2 separate regions of the Homo sapiens genome follow, and region 2 is linked to region 1. The links are contacts of gene promoters, found by promoter capture Hi-C in blood cells and fetal thymus (Javierre and others, 2016). All regions are on one chromosome and are shown on one strand. Each heading gives the region's core, a stretch centred on a gene start or on the middle of the fragment in contact. The rest is flanking DNA. Distances are from core to core; before and after follow the strand shown.

Region 1 (7,570 bases), core at 1,441-3,940:
ATTTACACCAGGAAATACTGATCTAGGACAACTTAGTTCATTTTCAGATAAAGAAACCAAGCTCCAGAGCACTATCAGCAACATAGCTAATATTGAGTGAGGTCAGGCCCTGTGCTAGGGGATCTTCTGATGAGTCCTACAACAACTCCATGAGTTAGATACCATTATCCTTTCCATTTTAGATGAGGAAACTGTGGCTAAAAACAGTTAAGAATCTGCCTGAGGCCATGCAGTAATTTATGGATGGAGCTGGAACAAAAGCCGATCTCCTATTCCTCAGGCTCAGGCATTTTTCAATGGCATCTTCTGACTCACCTGGTAGAGCAACCCACTCTGTTCCAGGAATGCCCACTTCCCAGGCCTTTCCTCTCATGAGTCCTCACTTACATCCAAGCCTAATCCCTCTGCAGGGCTGAGCTTATGGCTGCGCCCTCCAGAGCGTTCCCTGTTCTTTCTCAATTTCTTTTTTGTTTTTTTGTTTGTTTTTGAGATGGAGTCTCGCTCTGTCGCCCAGGCTGGAGTGCAATGGCGCAATCTCGGCTCACGCAACCTCTACCTCCCCAGTTCAAGCTATTCTCCTGCCTCAGCCTCCCGAGTAGCTGGGATTACAGGCATGTGCCACCATGCTCGGCTAATTTTGTATTTTTATTAGAGACAGGGTTTCTCCATGTTGGTCAGGCTGGTCTTGAACTCCCGACCTCAGGTGATCTGCTGGCCTTGGACTCCCAAAATGCTGGGATAACAGTCATGAGCCACCCTGCCTGGCCTTCTGTCTCAATTTCTACCTTATGGTGTTGGTTAATACATATGTCAGTCCTTTTTTCATGCCTTCGAGATCACAAAAGCCTTCATGAGAGGAGATAAAGCAGGGCAAGGCCAAGATTAAAGGGTAAAGTTCATTTGGGCAAAAGACACAAGGAGGAAGAAGCAGAGATGTGGGAACAGGCAAGCTGACGGCTGGGTTTGGGGAGGTGGAAGTATAGCTGGGAAGCACTGAGAAAATCCTACTGGCTGCATTGGAAGGAAGGAAAGAATGAGAAGCCAGTATTGTTGAAACAGACCTGGCTCCGAGCTAGGCATTTTATGTGTGCACTGGGGCCCCAGATATCTTTGCAGGTCATACCTCACTGGTCTAGGCCTGCCTGGAGCCACAGGCATGAAGGACTGGGGAACCTTCTAGAAAAGCCAAACAACATAGGTAGGGCATGCTGGACCAGAGAACAATGCCTCAGGGTCAAATGTGAAGAATGAATGAATGAGTCGACTGAGTGTCTACTGCTGGGAATCATCCCTGGTCAGTCCCCACTGGCATCTTGAGTAGATATGGTGGGGCGAGATAGGGTTAGGAGAGAATAAGTAAAAATTGAAATTAGTCTGGGTGCAGTGGCTCAGGCCTGTAATCCCAGCACTTTGGGAGACTGAGGTAGGAGGATCGCTTGAGGCCAGGAGTTTGAGACCATCCTGGGCAACATGGCAAGACCCTGACTGCAAAAAATAATTTTTTAAAAATAGCCAAACATGGTGGTGGTTGCCTGCAGTTCCAGCTACTTGCGAGGCTGAGGCAGGAGGATGGCTTGAGCTCAGGAGTTCGGGGCTACAGTGAGCTATGATTACACCATTGCACTCCACTCTGAGTGACAGAGCAACCCTGTCCCTATAAAGCAAAACAAAGCTTTATGGATGGAGAATTTCCAAAGGCCCTTATTAGAGGTTGGGGTCCTGTCTCCAAAAAAACCTGAAAGTGCCTTCTCTAAGACCTCTCTGAGCTACCTCTCTGGGGCCCTCCTTGGAGTAGGGCACCTTGAGGAGAGGGGTGCCCTTGTCCCTTATGTGGAGACATCTCCACCTTTGGCATTCGTAGCAATGCCCAGAAGGGCTCAGCTGAAATAGTAGTGTGTTGAGTCCATATCCATGGGGCACTCAAGGCAGGCAGCTGTTTGCCTGGCAGCCTGGGACAGTTTGTGGGCTCATGAGAGACACCTCTGATGTCTCCCCAAAATATCTGAATCTGTCCAGTTCTTCTGTAAGTAGGGTCTTATAAGTACCAGTGAAACTGGGCACTTACAACTTGTGAGAGAGCTTCTGTTCCCACAGGCTGTCAAGGCCTTGGAATTTGAGTTTGATTTTCACAAACACCCTGCATGAAGTAACTTTATTTCTCTTTGTCAGATAAGGACACAGAGGCCAAGAGATAATGTGACTCACCCAAGGTCACAGCCCCTTAATGGAGCAGCTGGGATTTGACCCCAGGAAGCCTGGGTCCAGAGCTTAGCCTCCTTCCAATGCCTTTAGCACCATCAGGAAGAGTTGCTTCATTTCACTGCTTTTTTGCTATGAGACAGTGTCACAGGAAAGAATTTCCAAAGGCCCTTACTGAGGCGGGGGTTCTTTCTCCATCTTCCCTGGCACTCCAGTGGGGTCTGTGTTGTCCGTGGCCTTGTTGGGATGGGATGCTTTGCAGATGACAGTCCCATGGCTGCTCGCCTCTGGAAAGCTGCCTACTTGTCTTGCTTTGCTGTGCCCTGCCCTGGCCTCTCTGGGCCTGTGGATATTGCTATGGAAGGGGGTCCCCCGCCCCTACCCTCAGGACTGAGTGATTCAGAAAGCAATAAGCCTCTGAGTGCTGCGGCTGGGACTCCCCTCCCTAATCCCCAGTCTGTCCATGTTTATCCGATGGCCTCAGGAGGGGGTGTAAGGGGCTGGCGAGCAAGTGGGCAGCTGCTGAGCTTGCTGGGCCGGTGGGACGGAGCGGTCCAGGGACAGGCCCCTGCCTGGGCCAGAGAGGAGCCAGGAGCCATGAGGGTGGCATTAGGCATGCTCTGGCTCTTGGCCCTTGCGTGGCCCCCCCAGGCCCGGGGCTTCTGCCCCTCTCAATGCAGCTGCAGCCTCCATATCATGGGTGATGGCAGCAAGGCCAGGTATGGTACCGGGTGCGTGGGACGGGCAGCCCAGCCTCCATTGCTTTGCCAGCTAGGCTGGGTTGGGAGGAGTTGGAGCTGGGGCCCTGGGTGAGGTCTTCATCTCCCTTGGCCCTTGAGGACCAGGGATCCTATGGGGTGGACTGTGCTGCATTGTTTTCCAGCAGGCAAGGGGGTGACTCTATTCGAGAGGTACCAGGTATCTATACACATGGGCCCGAGGGTGAGGCACAAGTATGTCAGTTCTAAGAAGTCCTTCCTAAGTCCTCCTCCAGGCTCCTGGTGAAGAGCCCTCCTTAAAGGTCCAGGAAATCTCCTCCCTTACTGCTTTTTCTTCTCTTTTATTTTTTCTATTCCCTCTTCTTTTCTATATTTCCCCAGCCCCTTCTTTCCCAGGCCACTTGCACTCTCTTGCCTGACCTCTCTACAATATTCAATCATATCCCAGGCATTTCCTACAACCCCACCCATGATGGGACCACTTGCCTCTCATTCTCTTCCTCCTCTCCATCTTCGCTGGCCAGATCCCAGGAGCCTCAGCCTCAATACCTTTTTATGAGTGCTCCAAAAGCCAGGAGTGCCCATCCCATGACAAGCATGCTTCCTTCCATCCCCAGCCTTTTCCTTGACTTTCCCCACCCTCTGTCTGATCCCTCAGAGCACCTCCATTCTCTCCTCCTCTCCTTTCATGGGACATTCCCATGCCACTGTGGCTTGTGGACCCTTGCTCTTCCACTACTGCTCATTTTCTTCTTTTCTTTAGCAACGTTTAAATCATCTTTTCTCCAACTTCTTTAGCTTATCCATTAATGACCTCTGCATGGTTTCTGAGCCACTGATGGTTTCTGATCCTGGGAACAATGTTATTGGAGCTACCCTTTTAATAATCTTGGCAATGAATGTCGAGTTGATTGGGGGATGAGAGGAGAATGGAGAAGAACCACTAAGAAAAGACACCTCAAATGATCTGAGAACCAGAATGAGCTCCACTGTAGCCCAAGTGTCCAAGGCATCAACTCATATGAAGTGTAAGGGTCCTGTCCCCAGTAGAAGCCAGGCTGAGCCCTGAACAGCCTGCTGTTCCCAGCCTGGGCAGTGTCACTGGAGTGACAAAAAGCCTCCCACCACCCGTAGAAGGCATAGGGCTGAAAGCCACACAGCATCATTGACAAAACCGGTCCTGGAACCCAGGCATTCCGATTCAGTTTTCAGAACACTTATCTGGTGATGCTGCCATGGGCAGGGACCAGTGGTAAGTTCCAGGCAGCAGAGTTAATCTTAAGATGGAAAATGAGTTTCTAGGGCCGCTAATGTAAGTCAGTGGGCATTCCCTTCTCTGAAGCCAGAGCTCTTGGTTCTACCCGCCTGACTATCCCATGGCTAACATGCACCAGCCCATCTGCATGGAGGGTCCTATGAGGCCATGAAAGGTGGTAGCGGGCCCTGAGGTCCCCTGTGGCTATGGGCACAGACTGTGCAGTTAGACCAAAGCTCGTTCTGCATGTCAGAAGCCTTCCTCAGATCCCTCTCTAACCTGGGCCTCTCAGAGAGCCCAGCCTTTATGTCTGAGCTGTTGTATCGTGAAGTGTGTGCCTGTGGGCACTGGGGTTGCCTGGGAGGAGCTGGGCTATGCATCTGAATGGATTTGTGCCCATGCTGTTTGTCCCAGTTTGCCTCTGGTTTTACCCCACCCGGAGTTGTGCTGGAGGTTTGAGCTGTGGTGTAGGCTTGCATTGAGTTCTTATGGTTTCCTTTAAATGCCCCTTTTACCGTTTTCTCTCCCGTTCAAGATAAGTTTTCCAATCACCTGTCTTTCTCTCACCTACATCCAGACCTTCCTCCTTGCAATACCCAAACCTGTATTACTTTTTTTGAGACAGGGTCTTGCTCTGTCACCCAGGCTGGAGTGCAGTGGCACAATCATAGCTCACTGTAGCTTCCAACTCCTAGGCTCAAGCCACCTTCCCACCTCAGCCTTCTGAGTAGCTGGGACTACAAGCATGAGCTATCACACCTGCCCGAACCTATTGTAGTATCTGGAAATATCATTGCTGTAAATGCTCTTTCTTCCTGAGCTAGATTACACACTGTATGGAGACAGGGGCTATGAGGCTGATTCTCTTCTGAATTGCTCATCACTTAGTAAGAGTTCCATGTATATTTGCTCAAAAGGAGTGAGTAAGAATATCCGTGCTGTTTGTGGACACTGTTTACAAGAAAAAACAAGCCCAGCCCAGCTGCCTTTAAGTGGAGCATAGACTTATGCTGAGGGATGCTGGTGATATGTGTGTGCACCTCCAGGAAAGCCTGATATCACCAGTAGGTTATGCTATTACAAGAGAACAACCTCCCTTAGAAGGGCCTGTTCAGTGGCTGGGGGGCTTAGGATTTTGTTTTCAGTTTACGTAGTATAAAACATAGCCCTGAAATGTAGGCTTCTTGAGGGCAGGGACTGCCTCCTATTATCTCTCTATCCTCTGCTTTAGTCTCAAACTTAATGGAATAAGGTTTAAGAAGTCGTGGTTTGGGTAGAAGAGCTGATAAGACTGACCCGATCTACTTGCAGTGCTGAGATGCAAACATTGATGACAGTGATCCATACCCTTGGGCTCATGCAGGGTGGCAGGCAATGTGCTGGGCTTCCACATGCATTACCTCATTTAAACCCCATAACCACCTTGTGGGGTCTATTTGATGGCAAAACTGAGGAAAAGAGAGGTTACCTAATGTACTCAAGGACACACAGCCAGCAAGCAAAGAGCCCAGGTGTGAATCCAGCTGTGGGGCTGCCAAGTCCTGGCTCTTAAACAACTTGATCATCGATCGCATGGCTCCGCAGAGGTGGGAGAGACTTGAGGTGGTTTCATTTTTGATGTCCTTGGTATATTTTTTGTTAAACGATAAACCAAAACAGTTACAAAAATTGAGGTATAATTTAACAAACGAACACTTTTTTTTTTTTTTTGAGACAGTCTTGCTGTGTCACCCAGGCTGGAGTGCAGTGGGGTGATCTCGGCTCACTGCAACCTCTGCCTCCCAGGTTCAAGCGATTGTCCCGCCTCAGCCTCCCGAGTAGCTGGGACTACAGGGGTGCACCACAATGCCTGGCTAATTTTTGTATTTTTTAGTAGAGACAAGGTTTCACCATGTTGGCCAGGCTAATCTTGAACTCCTGACCTCAGGTGATCCACCCGCCTCCACCTCCCAAAGTGCTGGGATTACAGGCGTGAGCCACTGTGCCCGGCCAAACGAACACTTCTAACGCATATTTGCAAAGCAACAGTGCACAACGCGATCATGGGGTTTATTAATGCTGTTCATTCTTAGTGCACTGTGGGTGCTGCGGGCTGTTATGGGTCGTAACAGTGTAAGGGTGGGGTCTTGCCGGACCGTGAAGACCAAATCACCTTCCTGGGACCATTGTGAAAGGCTCTGAGAGCAAGACCTCTGCAAAGGGAAAAGTAGGTCTGCTTACTCCGGGCCCCTCTCCAGGTCCCCGTCATGGCTTGGACTCTGGTGTGGGTGTCCGGTGATAACAGGCAGAACTGGAGGCCTCGCGAAGGGAGGTAGCGGTGGGAGATCCCAGACCCGGCAGGATCCTTGCTCAACTATCCCTCATTTCTGCCAGCAGGACAGTAGTGTGCAACGACCCCGACATGACCCTGCCCCCGGCGTCCATCCCCCCGGACACCTCCAGACTGCGCCTGGAGCGGACGGCCATACGCAGGGTTCCTGGCGAGGCCTTCAGGCCCCTGGGCCGCCTGGAGCAGCTGTGGCTGCCTTACAACGCCCTCAGCGAGCTCAACGCCCTCATGCTGCGGGGCCTGCGACGCCTGCGGGAGCTGCGGCTGCCCGGGAACCGCCTGGCCGCCTTCCCCTGGGCGGCGCTCAGGGACGCCCCCAAGCTGCGGCTGCTGGACCTGCAGGCCAACCGCCTCTCGGCTGTGCCCGCTGAGGCCGCGCGCTTCCTGGAGAACCTCACCTTCCTCGACCTCTCCAGCAACCAGCTGATGAGGCTCCCGCAGGAGCTCATCGTCTCCTGGGCTCACCTGGAGACCGGTATCTTTCCTCCCGGCCACCACCCCAGGCGGGTCCTAGGTAAGGGTCGGCAACCTTCACCTGGGGTCTTAGGCAAGTTACCACGCTTCCCTGAGTTTCGATTATTTGGAAAATTGAAATCATACCTTCCTTCCAGGTTTGAGCAAAGACAGTGAGATCCACAAGAGCGGCGGGTTTAGGAGCTCAATCCACAAGCCAGACTGTGGCAGTTCATATCGCAGTCATAAGAGAGGTCTTTCCAGGTCATACAACCAGGAGAAGGCCCCTGAGACTCAATTTCCCAACTCAGAGCTGAATGGGTTAGTACACTACACCAGCTGGACCTGCTATTTTTTCGGTTCCTTCCTGTTCTTAACAAACCAACAGCTTACCATGTGAACCAGATCTTTCCTGCCCAAGGCACCTGCCTGGTCCTGAGAATGACAGAAGGGGCATAATTCATTCTGGAAAATTGATTTGAATTATACAACTCATACATGAATAAATACAAATGTTTAAAATATTGCAGAAGAGGTTAAAGACCCTTCTGTCCTCTCTCCCTATTCCAACCCCTTCCCAAAAGTAGTTACTATTATCATATTTATATGCAAGCT
Region 2 (6,909 bases), core at 1,223-3,722, 260 kb before region 1:
TCAGACAGCTTCCATAAGGCTCTAAGTAGAGGTCTGTTTACATGCAGTAAAAGGAAGTGTTAAGAGAGGAGACCACAGAGAGTGCTGCTTTAGCAGATGCCTGCAGAGCACTCAGGATAGAAAAGGAGGTGCTGGGGAGGAACAGGTCATGCAGAAGGGAAATACCATGAAGGGGAAGCCAGAGCAGGATAGGAGTGAGAGACACAGACTCACTCTGTCTGCGGTGCGGTGGAACAGTCCGTGGGATCCCCTGGAAGGAGCCCTGCCAAGGAGAGAAGGAGGGAGCAGAATACCCACCCTGTGCAGAGAGAGATGGGGTAGGGAGGTATAATAAAAAAGGGAACCAAAAAATAGAGAAACCAAGTCATACTTTGTTTTACTTTTAAATAACACAGAGCAATAGTGTTAACGAGAAGACAGATTTCATTTTTTTAAAATACAGGCAGCTCAAATTACTAAAAATACATCATAATCCAAACCTAGTTATTTTTAATATTTTTTTAAAAAATTATTTTCCTCTAATATTTGTAGTACAATGTACAAGAAATAATATATTCTTTCCGGTATACATTACATTTATCATCATATATCTCTTGTTAAAGTAGCAGATTCCAGTCTTTTGCAGAAAAAGAAGGAATTTAAAGGGGGAGATAGACTTTAGGTGTTAAACACACAGAAAATGCACCAATTTGTGAATCAGGCAATACAAAAAAATTATCATCTAAAAATTTTTATTTCGGCCGGGTGCAGTGGGCTCACGCATGTAATCCCAGCACTTTGGGAGGATGAGGCGGGTGGATCACGAGGTCAGGAGTTGAAGACCAGCCTGGCCAAAATGGTGAAACCCTGTCTTTACTAAAACTACAAAAATTAGCCAGGTGTGGTGGCAGCCACCTGTAAAACCAGTTACTCGGGAGGCTAAGGCAGGAGAATTGCTTGAACCTGGGAGGTGGAGGTTGCAGTGAGCCGAGATGACGCCACTGCATTCCAGCCTGGGCAACAGAGCAAGACTCCGTCTCAAAAAAAAATAAAATTTCTTCTTAAATCACAGGTTTTCAGAGGATTAGCAGGTAAAAATAAAGAACATTAGCTAAAGTTAGCAAAACCAACACAGCATTAAAAAAGATTCAGGATGTTGTAATGTGACATGTAGGCCACTGGTTACGTGGACATGCTTTTTAATTTCAATAACTTGTGGCTTTTTAGCTTTACTTATTTTAATCACAGATTATCAGAACTACGATACTCCTGAAATGTCATTTACTTCAATGTCCTCACTTTACAGAAAAAACTTTTTTCAAGAAAGTAACTGTTCAATGTTATACAAAGGGAACCATATTGGGTCTTATGTCCTTAGCCTCCTTACTGACTGAAACATATGCACAAAAAAATCTACTGAAACACTCTTAAAATATCATTAAGGAAAATCAGCCTATAAATCATGATCATACCCAGTTAAATCTGCAAAAGAAATTATGTATATTTTTTCAGACCAATTAATCTGACTTAAAAATAATATTGTATTAAAAATTACGATAATAGTTTAACAGTGTTTACAGATCTTATGAAGGGTCTGAAATGAAAAAAATTTTTCTCACTTTCCGTATCAACATTCTTTGACTCAGGTATAATCAAATACTTCTTTAAATTTAAGGGTGATCCCACATTGTTCAATATAAAACAGAAACATAAAAGATCCATTTTCTATGTTGATGAAGGGAAAAAAAAAAGCCACAAAAACTAAATTAACAATCTTTAGGATATTCTAGTAAATAAAAATCTTATCTTTTGAAATTATTATACTTTTTTCTTTTGCTAATTTGGCAAAAACAGCTTAGAAAACATTGAATAAGGTGATGACCCCAGATGCTCTCCATAGATACTACCTGCTGTTATGCTGTTTGTGAAATGTTTTGGTTCAAAGGCTATATTTATACTAAACAAATTCTCAACCAAATCCTCCCTATGCGTTTTGCAGAACCAAGCTTCTACCCACTGTACTACTAAGTAAAGAAACTTTCAGATGGTAACTTCATAGACATGTTTAAGAAAACAGTCATTGTTTCCTTCACCAAAGAGGTATGTTTACCTTTGCAGGTCTGTGGAAATAGCACTGACCTTGGAATCAGGGAAACTTTTTTTCCTTGGATCTTTCCCAAGCCTTGTAACCTTGAGAAAATTACTGATTTTTGAGCCTCAGTTTCCTTATTTGTCAGATGCAGAGGCTGGACTGGTTCATCTCGAAGAACCCTCTTACTTTTAGTTCCTATAATTTAGTTACTCATATCTGTCCCCATCTCCACTCCAGTAATTTTATAACTCTATTTTTAATTTTGTAACTCTATTTATATGGCATTTAAAACAATCAACTTTGTATTAAATTGTCTCTCCTGCTAGATCATTAATTCCTGAAATAATTTAGGTGAAAGTATCTGTCACAGTACCTATAAGTTCGCAGGAGTTTTAAAAGATATTAGATGTCCCACCTTCTATAGCCTAAAACTCCCCCAGCATGTAGCAGACACTAAGTTAACTATTTACTGATTTAAACAAAATTAAATTAATTTACTGTGTTTATCTAGAGATGCAGCTGTAGCATCTGTCAATCCCGGCCACACACTATAACCACCTAAGAAATTTTAAAACCAAAAACAATGATATCTGTCTTTATTTCCCCAAGACCAACAAATCATAATCTCTGGCATAGGTCTGAGTATAAGAAGGGAAAGACAACCTTGTGAAATAAATACATAAACAGCGCTGCCTGCCACCGCCAAGGGGCACCCATCTATTAGCCTATCAAACAGTTGTATGCCATCAGAGCTTATGCCCAGAAAGACAAAGAATGTTACTCATTTTATTTCTGCCACCTACAATGCGTCTTCCACTTCTCTACCCATCTGTCAAAATCTTATCCAGCCCCCTTAGGTTCTTTCAAACCCATTTCCTAAAAGCTTTTCCTGATCCTGCCTAAATTAATTATGATCATTCTTGTTTATAAACACCCACAGCAATTGGTGGAATCTTTCTTCCTCTTTTCATTACTTTGATTTGAGTATCTTAAAAATTCTTCTATTAAATATAACCACCCTGAAAATAATAGCTCTCTTACTTTCCTTGGTGTCAACTACTTAGCTTCTTGTCAATTTACTTATAGAGAGTAGAAATAACATACTCTGATCAGCATTTAATAGAACAGGGAATTCCAGTTTCAGGAAAAGATGGAGTAGACATACTTCTCCCTTTTCCTGCTGTCAAATACAGCTAAAAACCCTGGGCACTATATATAAAACACAATATTCTGAAAGGTAGAGAGAAAAAGTGAGACCAGCTTGGGACCCAAGGAAAAATATGGTGATTTTCTTTTTGCCTAATGTATCCTAAAATGAGTGATAGAGAAGCCAGCCCCTGGAAATGACAAGGAACACACACAAAAAAAAAATTTAAGAAAGCCTGCACACTCTAGCCAAAGGATCAGGAAAGAGGAAGACTAGCAATGCAGGAAACTTGTATCCAGTAATCTACCTAACACCACAGAAAAACCTGTGGCCCCAGCCCCCATTCCCATCAGAAAGGGAGGACTGGGAAGGCCGGGCGCGGTGGCTCATGCCTGTAATCCCAGCACTTTGGGAGGCCGAGGCGGGCAGATCACGAGGTCAGGAGATCCAGACCATCCTGGCTAACATGGTGAAACCCCATCTCTACTAAAAATACAAAAAATTAGCCGGGCGTGGTGGCGGGCGCCTGTAGTCCCAGCTACTTGGGAGGCTGAGGCAGGAGAACAGCATGAACCCAGGAGGCGGAGCTTGCTGTGAGCCGAGATCACCCCACTGCACTCCAGCCTGGGCGACAGAGCGAGACTCCGTCTCAAAAAAGAAAAAAGAAAGGGAGGACTGGGGAGTGTAGGCCTCCACCCTTGTATGGCTGTGACATTTTCTTATGTACTTCTTAAAATACGCATAAAAAATATTTAAGAAACTTATAAATGGGAGAGGAAAAGGGACTTAAAAGGACATAAAGTTTCTACATGTAGTAGACTATATATAGTTAAATATATATGTATGTGTGTGTGAAATATAATGCCTACAGCAACAACTAAAACATTATTATAAAGACATAAACTCAAAACACTATATATAAATAAAAATAGAATTATTAAAAAACTAATATACAGAAAAGAAAAAACAGAAATAAAGAAAAAAGAAAAAAATAAAATGGCAGACTTACATAGCAAAAATTACATTAAATATAAAGGGCTGAAATATACCCATTAAAAGACAGATTGGTAGATTCATGGCCTAACTATATGCAGATTACAGGAAATTCATGTTAGGTATAAAAATATATATATTTTAAAATAAAAGATGAAAACGATATACCACGCCAAAAAAAAAAAACAAAAGAAATTTGATGTGCTTATATTATTATCAAATAGACTTCAGAGCAAAAAGAATACCCACATATAGAAAGAGACCTCACAAAATGATAAAAAGGTTAATCTACCAAGAAGACACAGTGATCCTAACAGCACACCAAACTGCAGAAACGTATAGTAGCTGAAGCATAATCTCATAAAACTGAGAGAATCGCCAAATCTACAATTACAGTTGGAGAGCTCAACACCCCATCCCAACAACTGATAAAAATAACTAGACAAGAAAATCAGCAATGACATAAAACTCAAGGACACCACTAACAACAGCACCTAGTCAATGCTTACAGAATATTCTATCCAACAATAGCAAAAAGCAATCTTTTCAAGAATCCACAGAACATTTACCAAGACAGACCATAGTTTGGGCCACAAGACAAACCACAACAAAGTTAAAATATTGAAATTATACAGAATGTGTTCTCTGACCACAATGGGATCAAATTAGAAATCAATAACAGAAAGATGACAAGAATATGTCCAAACACTTGGATACTAACATTCATACCCCTAAGTTATCCATGGGTCAGTCAGAGAGGAAGTCTCAAGAGAAAAAAAAAAAAAACCATATCAAACTGAATGCAAAAGAAAATACATAATGTATAGGAAACAGCTGAAAAAATATATAATATGTAGGAAACAGCTGAAGTAGAGACAGAAAAGAGAAAAAAATTCCATCAATAAGCTAAACTGATGTCTTAAGAAACTAGAGAAAATAAGACCAAAATAAACCCAAAGTAAGAAGAAAGAAAAAAAAAAAAAAGCAGACATCAGCAGTTTTGTGGTGTAACCATTCTTTTGTTTCTTTACTTCTCTAATAAACTCATTTTCACTTTACTCTGTGGACTCACCCAAAATTTCCTGTGTGAGATCCAAGAACCCTCTCTTGGGGTCTGGATCAGACCCCTTTCCGGTAATATATTCCATAACGAACCATGAACAGATAATACTTTGGTCTCCCAAATATCGCCTTTTGTCAGGACTCAGAGTTATGAATGGCTTTCACCACATAGCTGCTTTATGACTGCGCTTCACTCTACCTTGAATACAAGAGACCCTACAAGTTAGGAAGGAATATCATCACCCCTATTAAGCCAAAGGATACTACAGAAGATGGATCTTGGTCCCTCTACAACCTTTAGGATTAAGGGTCCCCTTGTAAAGGGGAGGGGGAAATAGAAGCATTTGAATCAGAGCAATTCCATCTTGAACAGGGGCTGGGTAAAATGAGGATAAGACCAGCTGGACTACATTCCCAGGAGGTTAGGCATTCTCAGTCACCGGATGAGTCACTGGATGAGAAGGTTGGCATTAAGATAACAGTTCACAAAGACCCTGCCGATAAAACATGTTGCAGTAAAGAAGCTGGCCAAAACCCACCACAACCAAGATGGCAATGAAAGTGACCTCTGGTCATCCTTACTGCTCATTATATGCTAATTATAATAAATTAACATGCCAAAAGACACTCCCACCAGCACCTGACAGTTCACAAATGCCATCGGAATGTCTGGAAGTTACCCTACATCATGGGTCTCCAACCCCTGGGCCACGGACCAGTACCAATCCATGGGCTATTAGCAACCTGACAACACAGCAGGAGGTGAGCAGCAGGCCAGTTGAGTTGAAGCTTCATCTGTATTTACAGCTACTGCCCACTGCTTGCATTATCACCTGAACTCTGCCTCCAGTAAGATCAGCAGCAGCATTAGATTCTCACAGAAGCAGGAACTTTATTGTGAACTGCACATGCGAGAAATCTAGGTTGCTTGCTCCTTATGATAATCTAATGCCAGATAATCTGTCACTGTCTCCCATCACCCCCAGACAGGACCATCTAGCTGCATAAAAATAAGCTCAGGGCTCCCACTGATTCCACATTATGGTGAGTTGTATAATTATTTCATTATATATTACAATGTAATCATAATAGAAATAAAGTGCACAATAAATGTAATGCACTTGAATCATCCTGAAACCATCCACACTGCTCCCACAACCCTCTCCCCATCTGTGGAAAAGTTGTCTTCCATGAAACCAGTCCCTGATGTCAAAAAGGTTGGGGACTGCTGCCCTATATAGTTTAAAAGGAAGAGAAACCTAAAGTTTTGGGAAATTCTCGTTCCTTTCTCGGAAAACTCATGAATAATCCACCCCTTGCTTAGCATATGATTGAGAAATAACCATTAAAAATAGCCAACTAGCAGCCCTCAGGGCTCTGTCTATGGAGTAACAATTCTTTTGTTTCTTTACTTCTCTAATAAACTCACTTTCACTATAAAAGAGCAGGATCCTTGAAATTGAACATAGAAAAACAGAGAAAATCAAGAAAACAAAATGTTGGTTCTTTGAAAAGATCTGTAAAATTGACAAACCACTAGCAAGACTGACAAAGAAAAAGAGAGAAGGTAAATTACCAAAATCAGAATGAAATAAGGAATATCACTACAGACCCTCCAGCCATTAAGGTAATAAAG

What was found. Contacts are between HindIII fragments. The CHiCAGO score rates a contact against its expected background, and 5 or more counts as called.
Region 2: a fragment that was not itself captured here is called in contact with the fragment with the promoter of LRIT1 in region 1 in 1 of 17 cell types (activated CD4 T cells); the score reaches 5.2 in activated CD4 T cells.

The regions. Positions count from the first base shown.
Region 1 is chr10:84,236,666-84,244,235 of GRCh38, reverse strand. It overlaps LRIT1 (leucine rich repeat, Ig-like and transmembrane domains 1), which reads left to right and starts at 2,690. Exons shown (of 4, transcript NM_015613.3): 1 at 2,690-2,918; 2 at 6,550-7,016. The coding sequence starts at 2,797. The HindIII fragment of the contact is 15,150 bases long and covers 1,675-7,570 here.
Region 2 is chr10:84,493,264-84,500,172 of GRCh38, reverse strand. The region is part of intron 9 of CCSER2 (coiled-coil serine rich protein 2); the gene reads right to left. Among named protein-coding and RNA genes, the nearest start is that of CCSER2, 170 kb to the right of the region's middle. The HindIII fragment of the contact is 969 bases long and covers 1,988-2,956 here.